Linked DNA regions of Homo sapiens: all the other regions are linked to region 6. The links are contacts of gene promoters, found by promoter capture Hi-C in blood cells and fetal thymus (Javierre and others, 2016). All regions are on one chromosome and are shown on one strand. The core of a region is centred on a gene start or on the middle of the fragment in contact, and the rest is flanking DNA. Distances in the headings are between cores, read along the strand shown.

The links. The method cuts DNA at HindIII sites, captures the fragments that hold promoters and counts their contacts. A CHiCAGO score of 5 or more calls a contact.
Region 1: a fragment that was not itself captured here is called in contact with the fragment with the promoter of H1-4 in region 6 in 1 of 17 cell types (neutrophils); the score reaches 5.7 in neutrophils.
Region 2: a contact is called between a fragment that was not itself captured here and the fragment with the promoter of H1-4 in region 6, in 2 of 17 cell types (naive B cells and monocytes). The highest score is 5.2, in naive B cells.
Region 3: a fragment that was not itself captured here is called in contact with the fragment with the promoter of H1-4 in region 6 in 2 of 17 cell types (total B cells and neutrophils); the score reaches 6.1 in total B cells.
Region 4: a fragment that was not itself captured here is called in contact with the fragment with the promoter of H1-4 in region 6 in 1 of 17 cell types (fetal thymus); the score reaches 6.1 in fetal thymus.
Region 5: the fragment with the promoter of H2AC15 here is called in contact with the fragment with the promoter of H1-4 in region 6 in 5 of 17 cell types (monocytes, erythroblasts, M0 macrophages and 2 more); the score reaches 11.4 in monocytes.
Region 7: a fragment that was not itself captured here is called in contact with the fragment with the promoter of H1-4 in region 6 in 1 of 17 cell types (neutrophils); the score reaches 5.1 in neutrophils.

Annotation. Positions count from the first base shown.
Region 1 is chr6:27,766,522-27,769,486 of GRCh38, reverse strand. No RefSeq gene overlaps it. Among named protein-coding and RNA genes, the nearest start is that of TRV-AAC1-5, 15 kb to the right of the region's middle. The HindIII fragment of the contact is 3,636 bases long and covers 1-2,965 here.
Region 2 is chr6:27,175,560-27,178,403 of GRCh38, reverse strand. TRI-AAT5-2 (tRNA-Ile (anticodon AAT) 5-2) reads left to right here and starts at 1,116; the gene lies at 1,116-1,189. RefSeq lists enhancers at 1-18, 369-468, 659-858, a silencer at 1,061-1,210 and a cis regulatory region at 200-1,277. The HindIII fragment of the contact is 1,154 bases long and covers 823-1,976 here.
Region 3 is chr6:27,798,459-27,801,259 of GRCh38, reverse strand. No RefSeq gene overlaps it. Among named protein-coding and RNA genes, the nearest start is that of TRQ-TTG3-3, 3.9 kb to the right of the region's middle. The HindIII fragment of the contact is 618 bases long and covers 1,122-1,739 here.
Region 4 is chr6:27,817,264-27,820,236 of GRCh38, reverse strand. No RefSeq gene overlaps it. Among named protein-coding and RNA genes, the nearest start is that of H2BC14, 3.7 kb to the right of the region's middle. The HindIII fragment of the contact is 318 bases long and covers 1,360-1,677 here.
Region 5 is chr6:27,837,092-27,839,791 of GRCh38, reverse strand. It overlaps H2AC15 (H2A clustered histone 15), which reads left to right and starts at 1,417. Exons shown (of 1, transcript NM_003510.3): 1 at 1,417-1,912. The coding sequence starts at 1,453. The coding sequence ends at 1,845. H2BC15 (H2B clustered histone 15) reads right to left here and starts at 1,223. Exons shown (of 1, transcript NM_003520.4): 1 at 682-1,223. The coding sequence starts at 1,130. The coding sequence ends at 750. RefSeq lists enhancers at 972-1,181, 1,512-1,601, 1,672-1,781, 2,052-2,101, 2,172-2,261 and 2 more. The HindIII fragment of the contact is 16,643 bases long and covers 1-2,700 here.
Region 6 is chr6:26,155,029-26,157,728 of GRCh38, reverse strand. H1-4 (H1.4 linker histone, cluster member) reads right to left here and starts at 1,400. Exons shown (of 1, transcript NM_005321.3): 1 at 614-1,400. The coding sequence starts at 1,338. The coding sequence ends at 679. RefSeq lists enhancers at 1-167, 897-976, 1,237-1,396, 921-1,672 and a silencer at 557-606. The HindIII fragment of the contact is 19,818 bases long and covers 1-2,700 here.
Region 7 is chr6:27,483,848-27,486,547 of GRCh38, reverse strand. No RefSeq gene overlaps it. Among named protein-coding and RNA genes, the nearest start is that of TRD-GTC2-6, 5.5 kb to the right of the region's middle. The HindIII fragment of the contact is 4,863 bases long and covers 1-2,700 here.

The sequences.
Region 1 (2,965 bases), core at 316-2,815, 1.6 Mb before region 6:
GCACATACTCACACACCACAAGTTATATAAATCAGTTTATTACTTACAGATAGGCAGAAAGAGACAACAGAAGACTAAGATTCATAACAAGCTAGTCCCCCAAGGCTTAAGAAAGTTTCTGGGGAGGATGGAGTCTCAACTGTACATTCCCCACTATACTGCAGCTAGAATCCCTGAAAGGTAGCCCACTGTGGGTTATATACCTGAGTAGCAATGGAATGCACTGGGCAAAGGTTTGAAGGACATCCTTGTAAAGGAGACAGGAACAAAGTAAGCACTGTCCAGGACAGTTCTTCCCTATCTCAGTATATTGCATTTCCAGCACATCCTACAGTATTCTGAGAACTACAGACAAGGAGAGGGGAGGAACTGGATCACTGGCAGGGCACTTCTCATCCAAGTAATGAAAGGAGTGTGGTGCATCCAAATACCAGCTCTCTATGGCTTTGTTATTTGTGGTTGTGATATTTTGCCACCTTAAACCAATTAAACTAAAACAGGGCACCTTCAGCTCCCTCCAATGTGATGGGTATCAGATCCTCACATGGTAAGCCAGGGTTGGAGTTCTGTTAGTGTACACTGTGCCATTAGAAATGCTGGCATACTTGACCACTGGCAGGACATGGAGTCACTCTGGTTGTTCACAGATTGAGGTCCAGGATGGCAATCCAACTTTTCACCAGGTTTCCCACAGCGGGCACAGCTTGAGAAAGGCTAACAAAGGCATTATGCTTCCAGGCCTCTGCTGCCATGCTCCACAGAAAGAACAAAGTGACAGATTGGTGCCTCACTCCCCATCCCCAGAACACTGCCAGCCAAACTGTGAGTAACTCAGCCCATTGGGCACTGTGACCTCCTCCACTGTCAGTGATAATGTCCCCTGTTTTCATGTTGACAGTGGCTGCAGCCCATTTTACCCCTCAAGGCTTCAGCTTTGCTGAGCTATCTGTGAACTAGCAGAAGATGTCAGAGTCTGCATCCTGTAATCATGGTCCCCATTTGGCTATGGGGATTCCTAGGTGGTGTAGGCACCATTCCACCTGCCAGAGAGCTGGCCATTTTTACTTGTAGCTTGCTTACTACCTCTTCTCCTAATCAGGCTCAGTCTTGAATATACTACTTCCATCTGATGATGCCTCTTTGCTAGGCTAACCCCGTTCTAATATCTAGGCTGCCTGTTAACCCAGGACAAGATGGGGACTTGTGGTTGGAGTACAACCTTAGTGTACTGGGTCAGCCTTTCAGTTTCCACTAAGGTCCAATAAGCTAAAAACTGCTTTTCAAAAGGGGTGTAGGGAGTGGTTAATCCAGAACCCTAAAGGCCTTTAAACCCCAGTGGCCTCTTCTTTTTGCCAAAGGCTGCAGTCTGCATCATTTCCTAACACAGAGACTTGTCATTCAAATGGAGAGGTGTGCTCTAACTGCCCCAGGGCCATGGCCTGCCTAATGGCTTGTTGTAAAACCTAGAGTGCCTCATCCTCCCTGGGCCCTCAATGCAAAGTAGCAGCTTTCCTAGGTATCTGGTGGAGTGAAGCCAACAGAATGAACAGGTAAGGTATGTGTTGTTTCCAATACCCAAAAAGTCCACCAGTCAGGTGTTGGGCCTCCTTTTTCATAGTCGGCCAGTTAATGGTAACAGATTTTGATGGGCAGATCTGGAATCTAGTACTGAGCTCTAGCCCAGGTAGATCCTAAAAAGGTCACCAGTTTGGCTGATCCCAGGACTGTTAGGGTTAACTTCCCAGTCTGCTTGTCACGTCCCTGTGACCATCAAGTCCAAGGCCTCTTGTGTGATCGGATCATCAAGGGCCACAATAAGGATGTCACCTATGTAATGAATGCACATGACCACTTTAGGCAAAAGCACAGTGGCGAAATCCCATCCTACCCACTGGTGGCATATGGCAGGTGAGTTCAAATACTCCTGTGGCAGCACTGTAAATGTATATTGTATACTTTGCCATGTGAATACAAATTGATCTCTGCCCTTATCCCTCAAAGGGATTGAGAAGAATCCATTAGCCAGATCAATAACTGCATCATACCATTGGTTGGAAGCCTCCATGATGTGTTCAATTACTGTGGTGATATCTGGGCCACGAGTGTCAATAGGTCTACTACAGCATTTAGCTCTCAATAGTTAATTGTCAGACTCCAGGCTCCACTGGCTTTCTTAACAGGCTAAACCAGACTGTTAAAAGTGGAACCGGTTGCCCGCACACTTCTGCTTGAACTGAATATTGGATGAGGAGTGTGATGTCCTTCTTTCCCTCAGGGATATTATATTGTCTTTATTGTACCCTCTTCTAAGGTTTGGGGTGACATGGTGGTGCTTGCCTCTGGACTTACCTTACTGTGATGGCTAAAATGTTTCTTTTAGTTGGGGCATAGCCCAGTAAGCACCATGAAGTTGTGCACTGCATTAGGTCAATCCCTATAATACGCTCAGCCAATGGAAACCCAACCACCAGCCTGTCATAGCTGCTAAATGGCCACACTCATAAGTGAGAAAGCACCTCCCTACCTAGCATTTCCTTAATTCTCCACCCTACAAAATTCCAGAATCCACCTGGAATTCATGCCATTCTTCAGGGCCAGGAACTACAGTGGCTTGGGCCTCAGTGTCTAGCAGTTCCATGTAAATTAAAATCTGCCTCCATGTCCACTCTAACAGGTACATAATGCCTCCAGTCTCAGGGCAGGGTCAGAGGGCCAGGCTGAGGCCAGTGGAGACCTTGGTTCCACACCTGTTTCAGTTTAAAAAGGTGTGGGTACAGAGAACTTGTGTTAGGGCCAGGGAAGATGACTCTCCCAGAGAGGCTAAAGGGGGTGCCAATGTTTCCACTTGTCTATAGACTTCCCTTTCCCAGTACTCCTCCTGCATGGTTGGCACCTGTTGATTCTGTGAACTGCAAGGGCCTCCCTCTGATTGGTTCTGATAGCATGTATCAGATGGGGGGAGGCC
Region 2 (2,844 bases), core at 150-2,649, 1.0 Mb before region 6:
GGCATCTTTACTTCTGCAGAAGGGTGCTCCTTGCCTGTTACAATTGCAAGAGCACACCAAACAAAGGAGGTAAGGAGTTTTTAATCCTAACGCAGTTCCTGTTTCTGTGTCCTTCCCCTATTGGCTGGGGTTGGACCGCACAATCTAAGCTGATCCCGATTGGCTAAGACTTAAACTTTGGCAAATAGGGTAAACCCTGGATTTGCGAAAAAAAGGAGTGTATGTGTGTGGTGGGGGGCGGGGGGCAGGCAGGATTGACGTACAACTTTTGCAACTTATGACAAGAAAGTTGAGTCTTTGAAGAGGGACTTAGTTGTCCCAACACTCTGAGTTGCCTGACCCGGTCCTGGGCTCAGTTCCTCCCAGATACCGGCGTTTATCATTGGTGTAGATAATGGTGACTTCCCTTGTCTTAGATGTGGGTGTCTTGGTCTTCCCGGGACGGAAGGAGTCAGAGACTCTTGAAAGGAGCCGTCCCGCTGGTCCTTTCATTTACGCCGATGCCAGCCCGGCACTCGAGCATCACCAAGGGCCCGGTGCCCGGCACTGCAGGGCCAAGTCTGATTTTATCGTTTGTGGAGCTGCAAGCTTAGGACGCACAGCTGTGAATTTCGGGTCCTGGTGACTGCGGAACCACCGCGAGGCCAGGAGGCGAGACAGTGCACTTTCCCAGGTTCCCAGGCCTAAGAGCCCACCTGGCTGGAATGGTCTCAAGGAGCAGAGAGGAATCCGCACCCTCCGAGTCCTCCGAACCCTCCGATCCTGCGAACCTGCGGCGGCTCTGCGGTTGGTTCCGTGAGGAACTGGCCGCGATCGCAAGCTTGGAGCTGCTTTTTGGTTTGTTCTGAGTCCTTCACCTGGTGAGGGGAAGGAAGCCCTGCTTGGGGTCGTTGAATCTGAGTTTTCTCCAGTCAGAATCAGTGGTTTGAGATTGTTTTCCCTGAAACAGCATGGTTTTCCTGTGCCTACAGTGAGGAATTCTCCTTTTCTTAAAAAAAAATATATTTTATTAATAAAAGGGAAAGTAACGCTTCTATTACAAAAAAAAAAAAATTCAGCGGGCATGGATCAGGTATGATTTAAATAAACATAAGAAAAGACCCTCCCACCAAGGAGGCCGGTTAGCTCAGTTGGTTAGAGCGTGGTGCTAATAACGCCAAGGTCGCGGGTTCGATCCCCGTACGGGCCACTTCCGTGGGTTTGTTTTTTTTTTTTTTCTTCTTTTTCGTTTTTATTTTACACCGACCACACCTCGCTTGTAAACTTCGGTTTTACATCGAACTCCGTAGCCTCGCCTATCCATTTATAAATGTAGTTGCACTAGCTAGACAGGAATTTTTTTCTTTTTTCTTTTTTTTTTTTCTTAAATCGACCACACCTGGATTGTATACTACCGTCTTACATCCAACTCCGGAGCGCTGCCTATCCATTTGTAAATGTGGTCGCAATAGCTAGACAAGCATTAGATTTGCACGTTTTTTATTCTTTTGAAGAAATAATATACGAGTTAGGATGAAAAGGTTTTTCTTATTTGTTTGTTTTGTTTGTTTTTGAGACAGAGTCTTGCTCTGACGCCCAGGCTGGAGTGCAGCGGCGCGATCTTGGCTCGCTGCAACCTCCGCCTCCCAGGTTTAAGCAATTCTTCTGCCTCAGCCTCCCAAGTAGCTGGGATTACAGGCGTGTGCCACGATGCCTGGGTAATTTTTGTATTTTCAGTAGAGACGGAGTTTCACCATGTTGGCCAGGCTAGTCTTGAACTCCTGACCTCAGGTGATCCGCCTGCCTTGGCCTCCCAAAGTGCTGAGATTACAGGCATGAGCCATCGCGCCCGGCCAGGATGAAGATTTTTTAAAGGAAATTCAATGAGGTGGGTGGGTGATTTTAGAAAAGGGTTAAATAAGAATTCGATAATGTCTTGTATTATTTTGGGAAAAAAAAACTTTCTGAGATAATACTATTTTGACATATTTTAAGCTTTTGAAAGAGATCATATTGATTCTTCTCCTAGTTGATCACTCAGTTGGTTAAATTGTTGTGTTTGTAGCTTTGAGGGCGAGGGTTCAGTCTACGTGGGAAAAAGCCAGACTTGTGACGTTGCTTTCTGCCAAGCTCCAGACACTCAGCCACAACTGCTCAGTGTTAAAATAGATCCGTGGTTAGCCTTAGGCTTATATTTGACAGCTGTTCTCGATGTGGCCCATACCAAGCCATTTACGATGCGGCCCTTACCAAGCCATTTACAGTTCATTAAACAATTTTTGAACATATATCGTAAAAGCGATAGGTTTGAAATGTGACAAAAATGGAGTGCGTGGTGGGAGACAGGAGGGCCAGAGCCTCTGGGTCCACTCTAAGTCTTAGCACCTCGCTCTTTCTGTCCTGCGCTTTCTTTTTTTTTTTCTTTTTTTCTTTTTCTTTTTTTTTTTTTTTTTTGAGACGGAGTCTCGCTCTGTCGCCCAGGCTGGAGTGCAGTGGCGCAATCTCGGCTCACTGCAAGCTCCGCCTCCCGGGTTCACGCCATTCTCCTGCCTCAGCCTCCCAAGTAGCTGGGACTACAGGCGCCCGCCACTACGCCCGGCTAATTTTTTGTATTTTTAGTAGAGACGGGGTTTCACCGTTTTAGCCGGGATGGTCTCGATCTCCTGACCTCGTGATCCGCCCGCCTCGGCCTCCCAAAGTGCTGGGATTACAGGCGTGAGCCACCGCGCCCAGCCCTGTCCTGCGCTTTCTTGGAGTCTGGTCACTGGGTCCCCGTGTGCCTGGCACGTGTCTCATTTACATTTCTTCCTTCACTCTTCATCCTCCCAACATATTTTTACCCTTCTCTTATTTTAAAACATGGGT
Region 3 (2,801 bases), core at 181-2,680, 1.6 Mb before region 6:
GCCTTTGTTCCAATTCCAAGCAGGCCAACCACTTTCCCATGTACATATTGTAACCACCCAAGGGGTTAACCTTGCCCGCTGCCTAGACAGAGCTGATTCATCAAGACAGGGGAATTGCAATAGAGAAAGAGTAATTCACACAGAGCTGGCTGTGCAGGAGACTGGAGTTTTATTACTCAAATCAGTTTCCCTGGGCATTTGGGGAGCAGAGTTTTTAAGGATAACTTGGTGGATGGGGGGAAGCCAGTGAGCCAGGAGTGCTGAATGGTCAGAGATTAAATCATAGGGAGTTGAAGCTCTCTTCTTGTGCTGAGTCAGTTCCTGGGTGGGGGCTACAGGATCAGATGAGCCAGTTAATAGATCTGGGTGGTGCTATCTGACCCATCTTGAGTGCAGCGTCTGCAAAATATCTCAAGCACTGATCTTAGGAGCAGTTAGGGAGGGTTAGAATCTTGTAGCCTCCAGCTGCCATAATTTTTAATCTTGTGGCTAATGTTAGTCCTACAAAGGCAATCCAGTCCCAAGGCAAGAAGGAGGTCTGCTTTGGGAAAGGGCTGTTACCATCTTTGTTTAAACTATAAACTACAAACTAAGTTTCTCCCTAAATTAGTTCAGCCTACACCCAGGAATGAACAAGGATGGCTTGGAGGTTAGAAGCAAGACGGAGTTGGTTAAATTCCATCTCTTTCTCTGTCTCAGTCATAATTTTGCAAAGGTGGCTTCAATATCTGTCATTAAATTGCTGGAATGTTACTTTATTTTGCATTTGACTATTTTTTTTTTAAATTTTTATTTGAGATGAAGTCTCGTTCTGTCGCCCAGGCTGGAGTGCAGTGGCACGATCTCTGCTCACCACAACCTCCACCTCCCAGGTTCAAGCGATTCTCCTGCCTCAGCCTCCCGAGTAGCTGGGATTACAGGCGCGTGCCACTGCACCTGGCTAATTTTTTGTGTTTTTAGTAGAGATGGAGTTTCACCATGTTGGCCAGGCTGGTCTTGAACTCCTGACCTCAGTTAATCTGCCCGCCTCGGCCTCCCAAAGTGCTAGGATTACAGGCGTGAGCCACTGTGCCTGGCCCGATTATTTAATATCTGAGAAACATAAGAGGCTAAGAAAAGCTTTGAAAGAATGTCATCTATTTTATTTATGCTTATATTATGGCCAGGTTATATTTCTTTTTCTTTTTTTTTTTTTTTTGAGATGGAGTCTCACTCTGTTGCCCTGGAGTGCAATGGTGTGATCTCAGCTCACTGCAACCTCCACCTCCCGGGTTCAAGGGATTCTCCTACTTCAGCCTCCCAAGTAGCTGGGATTACAGGCACGTACCACCACGCCCGCCTAATTTTTTAAAAGTTTTTAGTAGAGACAGGGTTTCTCCATGTTGGCCAGGCTGGTCCCGAACTCCTGACCTCAGGTGATCCACCTGCCTCGGCCTCCCACATTGATGGGGTTACAGGCATGAGTCACCGTGCCTGGCCAACCAGGTTATATTTCTATAGCCTCTCCAAATTCTGGGAACGAACCCCACTTGAGGCCTACAACACTAAATTCCCACATCCCCAAAAGATGTACTCAAATATTGGAGCAGTTAGCACAGTCCAGACTATCAAATGTGTTGACCTGAAATCTATTTTCTGTATGGACAAGAAGACTACAGACTGAGAATTTTAATAGAAGATATTGCCATTCATAAGAATTGTGCTGCAGGAAGGAAAAGAGACGAGAAAACCTACAAGCTTAACCAAGAAAATGGATCTAACCTTCCATTCAGTGGCCCCCAGATCTTCCTGTTCCTTTCCATGCAATGAACAAACATAGGAGCTAGAACCTGGTTCCTTGGTGTAAAACAAACAAACAAACAAAAAAACAACAAAAAAAAAACAGCCAAAACTGAGGATCTAAGGTCATCTTGACCTTTGTGAGATCACCACAAAGAAACAAATGCCATTTTGTCCACTGTGTGATCACAAACAAGTCAGTGACACTCATTATACCAGTTTCCTTAACAGCAAAATAGGGGTGAAAATCAGCCTCATTTTATCAGGAAGTTGTATGATTGAATAAGACAATGAATAAGATATATGTAGGACAGGCATGGTGGCTCATGCCCGTAATCCCAGTACTTTGGGAGGCCGAGGTGGGCAGATCACTTGAGGTCAGGAGTTCAGGACCAGCCTGGCCAACATGGTGAAACCTCGTCTCTACTAAAATTACAAAAATTAGCTGGGCATGGTGGCACATGCCTGTAATCCCAGCTACTCAGAAGGCTAAGGCAGGAGAATCACTTGAACCCGGGAGGCAGAGGTTGCAGTGAGCCAAGACTGCGCCACTGAACTCCAGCCTGGGAAACAGAGCGAGGCTCTGTCTCAAACAAACAAACAAACAAACAAAAAAGACATATGTAACAGGGAAATAATTATCACCATGCATTAAGAGGAAAAGAATAATATAGAAATTACTGCAAATTATATTTATAAGTGAGGAAAATCACTCAGAGCCAGTAATTTTACCTCTATATGACCCCATCAGCCAGCTTAAAGGAAATTAACTTACTTAACCAAAAAAACATTTATTGAGCACTTAATATATGAGAGACAATATATTAGCATTGAGAATACACGCTGAAAATAGCCTGCTAAAATTCCTGTTCTTATGGTACTTTGAGGTGGGATTAAATTCCATAACATGTCATCACCTTGATAAGTGGTTTAGATAAAAATACAGCAGGAAAGGGGATAGGGAGCTGGAGATTGCATTTTTAAGGAGGGCATACAAATGAGGTCTCATTGAACTGTCATTG
Region 4 (2,973 bases), core at 269-2,768, 1.7 Mb before region 6:
GAGGAAAAAAATATTTTCCCTCTACACTTCTGAGTTCTCAGCTAGAGCCCTTGTGACAAAAGACAGATTAAGAAGAGAAAAACAAACAAGTTTATTAACATGGGTACAGCACATGTCTCATGTGAGTGTACCCAGAAATGAGTAACTAAAAAATGTGACTTAAAACTCCAGTTTATATACAGCATCTTTAATAAGATCAATAAGTTTTTAGAGAAATTAGAAGACAAAGGAAAAGGATTTTGAGTTTTTAGGAGTGACAAATTGTGGGAAGGCAAATATATACGAAATTAATGGTAGATAAAGGCTGGTTAGTAAAGTTGTTATGCAGATTGCTCTGGTGCCCTCTCCAGGCTGATGAGAGTCTGATGTTGTCTCTGGTGATTAATTTTTGCCCTTTCTGGTAGAGAGGGGAGGAGAGACACCTCCGTACATTTATGTCCTGCTTTTAGGCAAATAGGGAGAGGGCAGAGAGTTTTCTTGTATCTGCTTCTTCTTAGTTGCCCTCAACTCAAATATTCTTTATGTCAATGTGGCATATTTTGGGGTGGTGTGTCTTGCCACCCTTCACTCAAAAACAGCTAATCTCTACCCAAAAAGAGAATCCTGGCTGGGCGCGGTGGCTCACGCCTGTAATCCCAGTACTTTGGGAGGCCGAGGCGGGTGGATCACGAGGTCAGGAGATTGAGACCATCCTGACTAACACGGTGAAACCCCATCTCTACTAAAAACACAAAAAATTAGCCGGGCATGGTGGCGGGCCCCTGTAGTCCCAGCTACTCGGGAGGCTGAGGAAGGAGAATGGCGTGAACTCGGGAGGTGGAGCTTGCAATGAGCCGAAATCATGCCACTGCACTCCAGTCTGGTTGACAGAGCAAGATTCCATCTCAAAAAAAAAAAAAAAAAAAAAAGAGACAGAGAATCCTTCCCCTAAAAGGAGACCCTAAGTATCGGCCCTTACCCCTTGCCTAGTGTGCCTGCCTTTATTCAAAATGTGAGACTCAAAACTTATTCGAATGTTACTCTTTTATTGTCTCACAATAAATCCAAGCCCATAACCATTTCTTGTAGGAATTAGTCTTTTTGAGACACTTCACAGTACTCACAAGCCTAAAGACAGAAAACTAGATTTTTTTTTCTTTTCAAAGAATTTAACCCTTGCTTAATAATAATCAGCTGTGACATTTGGATTTAAGTGTGAAGTTACTAACAAACATAGCACTCCTAGGTAGAATCCACCCAACCATGACCATGAACCTCCAAGTCATAGCTTGAATGTACCCATTGCATTGAACGGCCTCTACTTTTTTCCCAAAAGCCCAAATGCCTCTGTGCTATTTCTGTCTCATTTAAATTTAAGCTTCTTGGCCAGGTGCAGTGGCTCACGCCTGTAATCCTAGCAGTTTGGGAAGTCGAGGCAGGCAGATCACTTGAGGTCAGGAGTTTGAAACCAGGCTGGTCAACATGGTGAAACCCTGTCTCTACTAAAAATACAAAAAAAATTAGCTGGGTATGGTGGCAGGCACCTGTAATCTCAGCTACTCGGGAAGCTGAGGCAAGAGAATTGCTTGAACCCAGGAGGCGGAGGTTGCAGTGAGCCAAGATCATACCACTGCACTCCAGCCTGGGCAACACAGCAAGACTTTGTCTCAAAAATTAATTAATTAATTAATTAAAGCTTTTTTTTTGTTTTTATATCCATTTTTTTTATTTCCTTCATAAAGATGTACATTATATTACATTGACACATTATATTCACCTTATTTTGTAGGGTCACCATTGACCTAGGCACTATAGGGGGAAAAAAAATGAAACCCAGTCTGCACTCCACATGACTTGTAAAAACAAGATATAGTCATCAACACCTCCAATATTGGCTTACACAATAGGCTATAACAGTGGGTTAGAGTTCTCCAAGTGCATGGGGAAAGTAAAATCAATTAGTGTATGGGTAAAACAACTCAATAAAGAACTTTTAAATATTGTTTTGCTAAGTATTCTGTGACCAAAATGTGAATTTTATCTCTTCTAAAATGACTGTACATACATATAAAGATTGTGTCGACCCCAAAATTCTGTTTTGTTCTATTAAAAATTAAAAATAGGGGCAGGGCACAGTGGCTCACACCTGTAATTCCAACATTTTGGAAGGCCAAGGCAGGAGGATCACTTGAGCACAGAAGTTTGAGAACAGCCTAGGCAACATGGTGAAACACTGTCTCCACCAAAAAAGATACAAAGATTAGCCCAGGGTGGTGGCCTGTGCCTGTAGTCCCAGCAACCCAGGAGGCTGAGGTGGGAGGATTGTTTGAGCTTGGGGAAGCCAAGGTGCAGTGAGCCATGATTGTGCCACTGCACTCCAGCCTGGGCAACAGAGTGAGACCTTGTCTCAAAAATAATAATCATAAACAATTTTGCCAAGATTTCTGGATAGTATTTTCCTAATTTTTTTTTTTCTTTTAGATGTAGTCTTGCTCTGTCACCAGGCTGGAGTGCGGTGGTGTGATCTCAGCGCACTGCAACCTCTGCCTCCTGGATTCAAGCAATTCTCCTGCCTCAGCCTCCCAAGAAGCTGGGATTACAGGCGCATACCACCACACCCTGGTAATCTTTGTATTTTTGTAGAGATGAGGTTTCACCATGTTAGCCAGGATAGTCTCAAACTTCTCACCTCAAGTAATCTGCCTGCCTTGGCCTCCCAAATTTCTGGGATTACAGGCATGAGCCACCGCACTCAGCCTAATTTTTTAAAAAAATCTTTTGAGCTTTAATTTGTTTCTAACATGATACTCCTGTATCAAGAATAGATGCTTCATCTAATGAGATTGTATTGTTCGGGCTCAGAAACCGATTCCCCAAAATATGGAGCTTTGACATACTGAACTGAAGAAGAGTACTCAAGGTCTTTCGGACCTTCCCCCTATTCCTCTCTCTCATTTCTCTATCTGAAAGCAGAGAATGAAGTTGTTCTCTGAA
Region 5 (2,700 bases), core at 168-2,667, 1.7 Mb before region 6:
AGGGAGGAGAAACAGCACCACTCTCAAAACAAACAAGTCGATTTGTACGTTTGTGTGTGTGCCAACTGCTTCATTACTAAAGTACACATGAAGTTTAGGGACAGAGCGCCGGAAGCACTGTGGATATTTTACCAGTGACACTTAAGTATTATATTTTCTTTGGGGTCAACAGGAACTGAATTTTCCCTTTACTAGGTTTGTCTGATGATAAACCTCATCCTTCTTCAGATATAAAATTGTCTCAAGCGTTGCTGCAACATGCAGTACACTGCAGTGCTAATTAATTTCTTTTCTTTTTCTTTCTTTTTTGAGACAGAGTTTCGCTCTTACTGCCCAGGCTGGGGTGCAATGGCCCGATCTCGGCTCACTGCAACCTCCATCTGCCGGGTTCAAGCGATTCTCCTGCCTCAGCTTCCCGGGTAGCTGGGATTACAGGCGTCCGCCACCACGCCCAGCTATTTTTTTGTACTTTTAGTAGAGACGGGTTTCACCATGTTGGCTAGGCTCGTCTCGAACTTCTAACCTCAGGTGAGCCACCCGCTTCGGTTTCCCGAACCGGGATTAGAGGCTTGAGCCAAAATTAGTTTCTAACAAGGCTAAAGGAATCTTGGAAATCGTCTTTGTAGCAAGTAAGAAATACCTGCTGTAAGAACAGTGAGTGCCAGTTCTCTTTGGGAAGACTGAGTGGCTCTGAAAAGAGCCTTTGGGGTGTGGGCCGAGACTGACCGAACGTTCCGCGGTGGGCGGGCTCACTTGGAACTGGTGTACTTGGTGACGGCCTTGGTGCCCTCCGACACCGCGTGCTTGGCCAGCTCCCCTGGCAGCAGCAGGCGCACGGCCGTCTGGATCTCCCTGGAGGTGATGGTCGAGCGCTTGTTGTAATGCGCCAGGCGGGAAGCCTCGCCGGCGATGCGCTCGAAGATGTCATTGACGAAGGAGTTCATGATGCCCATGGCCTTGGACGAGATACCGGTGTCGGGGTGGACCTGCTTCAGCACCTTGTACACGTACACGGAGTAGCTCTCCTTGCGGCTGCGCTTGCGCTTCTTGCCGTCCTTCTTCTGGGCCTTTGTCACTGCCTTCTTGGAGCCTTTCTTCGGGGCAGGAGCGGACTTTGAGGGCTCGGGCATGACTGGGAGTAACTGCCGGAAAATTGGAGGAAAAAAACAGGAAGACGGTAGCTCTGTCAACCTACCGCTTATTCACTGCTTCTTAACGCAAGTGGGGTAGAGAATGAAGTTGTGCGTTTAACCAGTGGTGAGTCCTGGAAACGTATATTAACTTTGTCCAATCAAAATAAGTGTTTTTCAAAACCGCAATCCCATTGGTTAAAGCGAAACTGTAATGTTAGCCAATAGCACAGCTTAGTTTTCGTGCCTCTGTTGACTATAAGTAGCGGAGCTTTAGCGTTACGTCAGTCTCAGGAACGTTACTGATTGAATTTTTTACGTCATGTCGGGACGTGGCAAGCAGGGCGGCAAAGCTCGCGCCAAGGCTAAGACCCGTTCTTCAAGGGCGGGTCTTCAGTTCCCAGTGGGCCGAGTGCACCGACTGCTCCGCAAGGGCAACTACGCTGAGCGGGTCGGTGCCGGAGCGCCGGTGTACCTGGCGGCGGTGTTGGAGTACCTAACCGCCGAGATCCTGGAACTGGCTGGCAACGCGGCCCGCGACAACAAGAAGACCCGCATCATCCCGCGCCACTTGCAGCTGGCCATCCGCAACGACGAGGAGCTCAACAAGCTGCTTGGTAAAGTGACCATCGCCCAGGGTGGTGTCCTGCCCAATATCCAGGCCGTGCTGCTGCCTAAGAAAACTGAGAGCCACCACAAGGCCAAGGGCAAGTAGCGGGGCTGGAGCAGTTCATTACTCATACCTCGGTCCAAACCAAAAAGGTTCTTTTCAGAGCCACCTACTTTTTCACCAAGTAGAGCTGTGTTCAGTTTTATCTGATAGTCGAGTCATTTTGCAATGGCACTGGAATGCTGTATGGAGATGAAGCAAAACTAAACGGCTTTTACACCACATTGTTTTGAGATAGAAAGTAGACATTGAAATGTTTACGGTACATCAAGAAATTTAGGCGCGGCAGCTCGCGCCTGCAATACAGCTGAAACAATAAGAAAAGTGAGGCAAGAGAATAACAAAGGGAGCTGAAAGTTAGAGGGCAGAATAAGTAAAAGCAAAGGGCAGAAGTAAGGTAGATGGGCGGGTGAACAAGAAGCGAGATAACAAGCAGTGAACCTTTTGCAGCCGAAACAAAAGAGATAATGTGAGCAAGGACCTCGTGGCCGGCAAGATCTGGAACAAACCAGTTTAAGAGGCAGCTCTTCAGAGATGGGCATGCGTATTAGAGAGGAAAAGTATCCTTAACAAAAGCCCGTATGATAATCAGCTACTTAAGGTTCATGCATATGGGCTACATATCATGCATATATTTAAGATTATAAGATAGAGGCACAAGCCACAGAGGACAAAGTAAGCAACAAACCTATCAATAAAAGGGCAGATGCTGGCTATAGATTAGGCAGCACTGGGAACAGAAAACATACACACACGCACGCACACACATAAAATGACTCAAACTACAGCAAGCTGACGCTGATCTCACCTCGCAGAGGTCAGTCCGCTCTCTCCCACCCCCGAGAGTGTAATACTCTGTTTACTAAACTTTTGCTGCTTTGCTTTGCTATCTGTGTGTGT
Region 6 (2,700 bases), core at 151-2,650:
ACATCCCCCCCCCCCAAGTCTGTCAGTTTTACGTTTCGGCAAGTCCTTAATCCATCCAAATGCCACATTTAAGGACCAAGTATTTTTCTGCAGTGTCGGTTTCTAATTTTCAGTTATGTGGCAGTAGTCTCCCCAAGCACTTGAAATGTAGCCCTTCGGAAATAATGTCAGTACTATGCCACTTGTCCTAAGACGTACTCCTCTGAAGTCCCTCACTGCCTGCCATACTCGATAGGGATAACCAGTAGGCTTGTAACCAGCACAGAAACTGATACACTGTGCCGTGTTTGGAACTCGGAAAAACCCAGCTTAGAAACCCGGGAAAATCCCAACATTTTTTTTCCCATGCTATCTGGAGGCCAGGGCCTGCTAAAAGTGCAAAGCACAAGGGAGGCCCAAATGGGTTCAACTCCGACACTCGAGAACGCAAAATCGAGATGACGCCACTGCACTCCGGCTTGGGCGACGCGACGCCTTAGTCAAAAATAGCTCCGGAGACACACAAAATCCCACTCCTCTCCCCGACTTTGTTCCCGGGAGACCCGCCCCTGCTTAGCAGCGTTTTCCCGAGCCACGCCCCCTAATAGTGCAACAGCTCTTTTACTGAGAGCGGTGGGTGGCTCTGAAAAGAGCCTTTGGGTTGTGTTGGGCTTCTAAGCAGTTGGCCAAAGGAACTTTCTACTTTTTCTTGGCTGCCGCCTTCTTTGGCTTGGCTGCCTTGGGCTTGGCGGTCTTTGGTTTAGCCGCCTTGGGTTTAACTGCTTTGGCCTTCGCTGGGCTCTTGGGCGCCTTTTTTGGCTTGGCTGCTTTCGCCTTTTTCGGGCTTTTCGCTTTTTTGGCTCCAGCAGCTGCAGCCGGCTTCTTCGCCTTCTTTGGGGTCTTCTTGGCGCTCTTCTTGGGGGTGGCCGCCCCCGTCGCCTTCTTGGGCTTCTTCGCCGCTCCTGCTGGCTTCTTGGCCTTGGCCGCGCCTGCCTTTTTAGCCTTAGGCTTGGCTTCCCCAGAGGCCGCCTTCTTGTTGAGTTTGAAGGAACCCGACGCGCCGGTGCCCTTGGTCTGCACCAGGGTGCCCTTGCTCACCAGGCTCTTGAGACCCAGCTTGATGCGGCTGTTGTTCTTCTCCACGTCATAGCCAGCGGCTGCCAGCGCTTTCTTGAGAGCGGCCAAAGATACGCCGCTGCGCTCCTTGGAGGCGGCAACAGCTTTAGTAATGAGCTCGGACACCGGGGGCCCAGACGCTTTGCGCTTGGCCGCACCTGCAGACTTGCGGGCCTTCTTCTTCACGGGAGTCTTCTCGGCAGGGGCCGGAGCAGCGGGCGCGGCAGGCGCAGTCTCGGACATGTTGAAGGCAAGCGTGAGCGAGAGCAATTCGAGCCGGAAGCAGAGGCACTGGCCGGGACTCGAGCCGCGGCGCTGCGCCCGCCCGTTTATATAGGGCGGAGCTGCGCCGTGATTGGTGCGCTGTCCAGCCCGCCTCGCTGGCAGCCGCAGAGTGTCCTCTCGGATCCCGAGTTGTGTTTGTTACACCTCAAAAAAAGCCAAAAATATAAAAATTGTCTACACCGAACTGCCCGGTTTTTCTCAGATAATGATCCCCGAACCCTCAGGCTTCACGCAGATCTCAAATTATAAGGGAAGCACAAAGCCTTGTGCCAAAAACTTGCAATATTTCCCGCCGTGCTTGGCAAATTTCAACTCAGAGAAACAAAACTTTCTATTTTCTTCGTAAATTATAAACCGATCTTTAACTGTGGACTTTTCTGACCTCTCAAATATGATACTCCAAGTGGTTAGCTTCTTATATATCCAAAAAGCATGCCACTGGCATTAAGATTTTTATTACAAATCTGCACTTAAGTGAGGGAAGTAACACAGGCTCCTCGGAGAGTCCTGCCTATTGAGCCGAGGGCATTTGAGTTCATCAAACTGGTTTAGTTTAATGCCAAACAAATTATTGCCCATTTGAGATTAAGTTTTGGACCCCTGGGACATCAATCTATACAGCCATGGTTTTACATCTGTCCGCTACATCTGAGTTTTTAAACAATTCTTTGGATAATTCTTTCCCTTTCTGCTCCCAAGGGTTGGGGGCGGGGCTGTTGCTTCTCTCTTCCTCTGGACAATTGCTCCATGGATTGAGATACCTTGAATTCAGGGTATTTGGGAACGAAGGGAAGTCCAAAATGTACTCAGGGTACAGAGATGAAAAAGGATTAATTTTCAAATGTGATGTTCATAAAGTCACTGGAAGTGGAGGTGCACTTTACTTTAAAGCATTTGTCTGCAGCCTTGCTGAGTGCTTTTGGCATATGCTTCAGAACCAAATTGCAATAAAGTAGCTTAGAGCTGAAATTCAAGCATTGATGATAAGGCAAAATAAATAAGAAACGTAGATTGAAACATCTACTCCCATTATTAGTGAAACCCAGCCCCTATTATTACTGAATAGTTGAGGAATGACTAGTCCACTCACCACGTATGGTTTCAATCCCCCTGAAGATTGTATTCCAATGCTTCCCAGAGCTCAATAGAAAGAAAAATAAGTGACATGTAGTGATTAAACGACAAGTTCAAATTTCGATCTCAGAAGTAGAGCTTTGAGAGTCTATCTAAGCTATTATAAATCATTGCCCTCTGAAAACATCCTTTGAACAATGTCTGAGTGAATTTCTTTAGGTAGTTGCCCAATCAAGAAGAGTGTAT
Region 7 (2,700 bases), core at 179-2,678, 1.3 Mb before region 6:
ATGCTTAGTCTATGTCTACTAAGATGAAAATTTGGTTTTTATATTTATTCTATTAATGTGGCAAATTACATTTTAAAAAGTTAAACCCCTCTCCCTCTCCCTCTCCCTCTCCCTCACCCCACGGTCTCCCTCTCATGCGGAGCCGAAGCTGGACTGTACTGCTGCCATCTCGGCTCACTGCAACCTCCCTGCCTGATTCTCCTGCCTCAGTCTGCCGAATGCCTGCAATTGCAGGCACGCGCCGCCACGCCTGACTGGTTTTGGTGGAGACGGGGTTTCGCTGTGTTGGCCGGGCCGGTCTCCAGCCCCTAACCGCGAGTGATCCGCCAACCTCGGCCTCCCAAGGTGCCGGGATTGCAGACGGAGTCTCGTTCACTCAGTGCTCAATGGTGCCCAGGCTGGAGTGCAGTGGCGTGATCTCGGCTCACTACAACCTACACCTCCCAGCCGCCTGCCTTGGCCTCCCAAAGTGCCGAGATTGCAGCCTCTGCCCGGCCGCCACCCCGTCTGGGAAGTGAGGAGTGTCTCTGCCTGGCCGCCCATCGTCTGGGATGTGAGGAGCCCCTCTGCCTGGCTGCCCAGTCTGGAAAGTGAGGAACGTCTCCGCCCGGCCGCCATCCCATCTAGGAAGTGAGGAGCGCCTCTTCCCAGCCGCCATCACATCTAGGAAGTGAGGAGCGTCTCTGCCCGGCCGCCCATCGTCTGAGATGTGGGGAGCGCCTCTGCCCCGCCGCCCCATCTGGGATGTGAGGAGCGCCTCTGCCCGGCCGAGACCCCGTCTGGGAGGTGAGGAGCGTCTCTGCCCGGCCGCCCCGTCTGAGAAGTGAGGAGACCCTCTGCCTGGCAACCACCCCGTCTGAAAAGTGAGGAGCCCCTCCGCCCGGCAGCCACCCCATCTGGGAAGTGAGGAGCGTCTCCGCCCGGCAGCCACCCCGTCCGGGAGGGAGGTGGGGGGGGGTCAGCCCCCCGCCCGTCCAGCCGCCCCATCCGGGAGGGAGGTGGGGGGTCAGCCCCCCGCCCGGCCAGCCGCCCCGTCCGGGAGGTGAGGGGCGCCTCGGCCCGGCCGCCCCTACTGGGAAGTGAGGAGCCCCTCAGCCCGGCCAGCCACCCCGTCTGGGAGGGAGATGGGGGGGTCAGCCCCCCCACCCGGCCAGCCGCCCCGTCCGGGAGGGAGGTGGGGGGGTCAGCCCTCCGCCCAGCCAGCCGCCCCGTCTGGGAGGTGAGGGGCGCCTCTGCCCGGCCGCCCCTACTGGGAAGTGAGGAGCCCCTCTGCCCGGCCAGCCGCCCCGTCCGGGAGGGAGGTGGGGGGGTCAGCCCTCCGCCCGGCCAGCCGCCCTGTCCGGGAGGGAGGTGGGGGGGTCAGCCCTCCGCCCGGCCAGCCGCCCCGTCTGGGAGGTGAGGGGCGCCTCTGCCCGGCCGCTCCTACTGGGAAGTGAGGAGCCCCTCTGCCCGGCCAGCCGCCCCGTCCGGGAGGGAGGTGGGGGGGTCGGCCCCCCGCCCGGCCAGCCGCCCCGTCCGGGAGGGAGGTGGGGGTGTCAGCCCCCGCCCGGCCAGCCGCCCCGTCCGGGAGGGAGGTGGGGGGGTCAGCCCCCCGCCCAGCCAGCCGCCCCGTCCGGGAGGGAGGTGGCGGGGGTCAGTCCCCCTGCCCGGCCAGCCGCCCCGTCCGGGAGGTGAGGGGCACCTCTGCCCGGCCGCCCCTACTGGGAAGTGAGGAGCCCCTCTGCCCGGCCAGCCGCCCCGTCCGGGAGGGAGGTGGGGGGGGTCAGCCCCCCGCCCGGCCAGCCGCCCCCTCCGGGAGGGAGGTGGGGGGGGTCAGCCCCCCTGCCCGGCCAGCCGCCCCGTCCGGGAGGTGAGGGGCGCCTCTGCCCGGCCGCCCCTACTGGGAAGTGAGTAGCCCCTCTGCCCGGCCACCACCCCGTCTGGGAGGTGTGCCCAACAGCTCATTGAGAACGGGCCAGGATGACAATGGCGGCTTTGTGGAATAGAAAGGCGGGAAAGGTGGGGAAAAGATTGAGAAATCGGATGGTTGCCGTGTCTGTGTAGAAAGAAGTAGACATGGGAGACTTTTCATTTTGTTCTGCACTAAGAAAAATTCCTCTGCCTTGGGATCTTGTTGATCTGTGACCTTACCCTCAACCCTGTGCTCTCTGAAACATGTGCTGTGTCCACTCAGGATTAAATGGATTAAGGGCGGTGCAAGATGTGCTTTGTTAAACAGATGCTTGAAGGCAGCATGCTCGTTAAGAGTCATCACCAATCCCTAATCTCAAGTAATCAGGGACACAAACACTGCGGAAGGCCGCAGGGTCCTCTGCCTAGGAAAACCAGAGACCTTTGTTCACTTGTTTATCTGCTGACCTTCCCTCCACTATTGTCCCATGACCCTGCCAAATCCCCCTCTGTGAGAAACACCCAAGAATTATCAATAAAAAAATAAATTTAAAAAAAAAAAAAGTTAAACCAAATTTCCATTTCTAGAGTAAATCTGATTTGAATATAATGTTTTGACTTTTAAAATAATATGCTTTATTTACTTTGCTAATATTTTGGTAAAAAGTTTTGAGTCTATGTTTAAAAGAAATATTGGCTTGTAATATTCTGTTCTTGTACTCTCTTTCTGGGTTTTGGTATCAGAATTATGTCTGTGTAGTTAAATTAGCTGAACAATGTTTTCTCTTTTTCAGTTCTCTGAATAGCTTT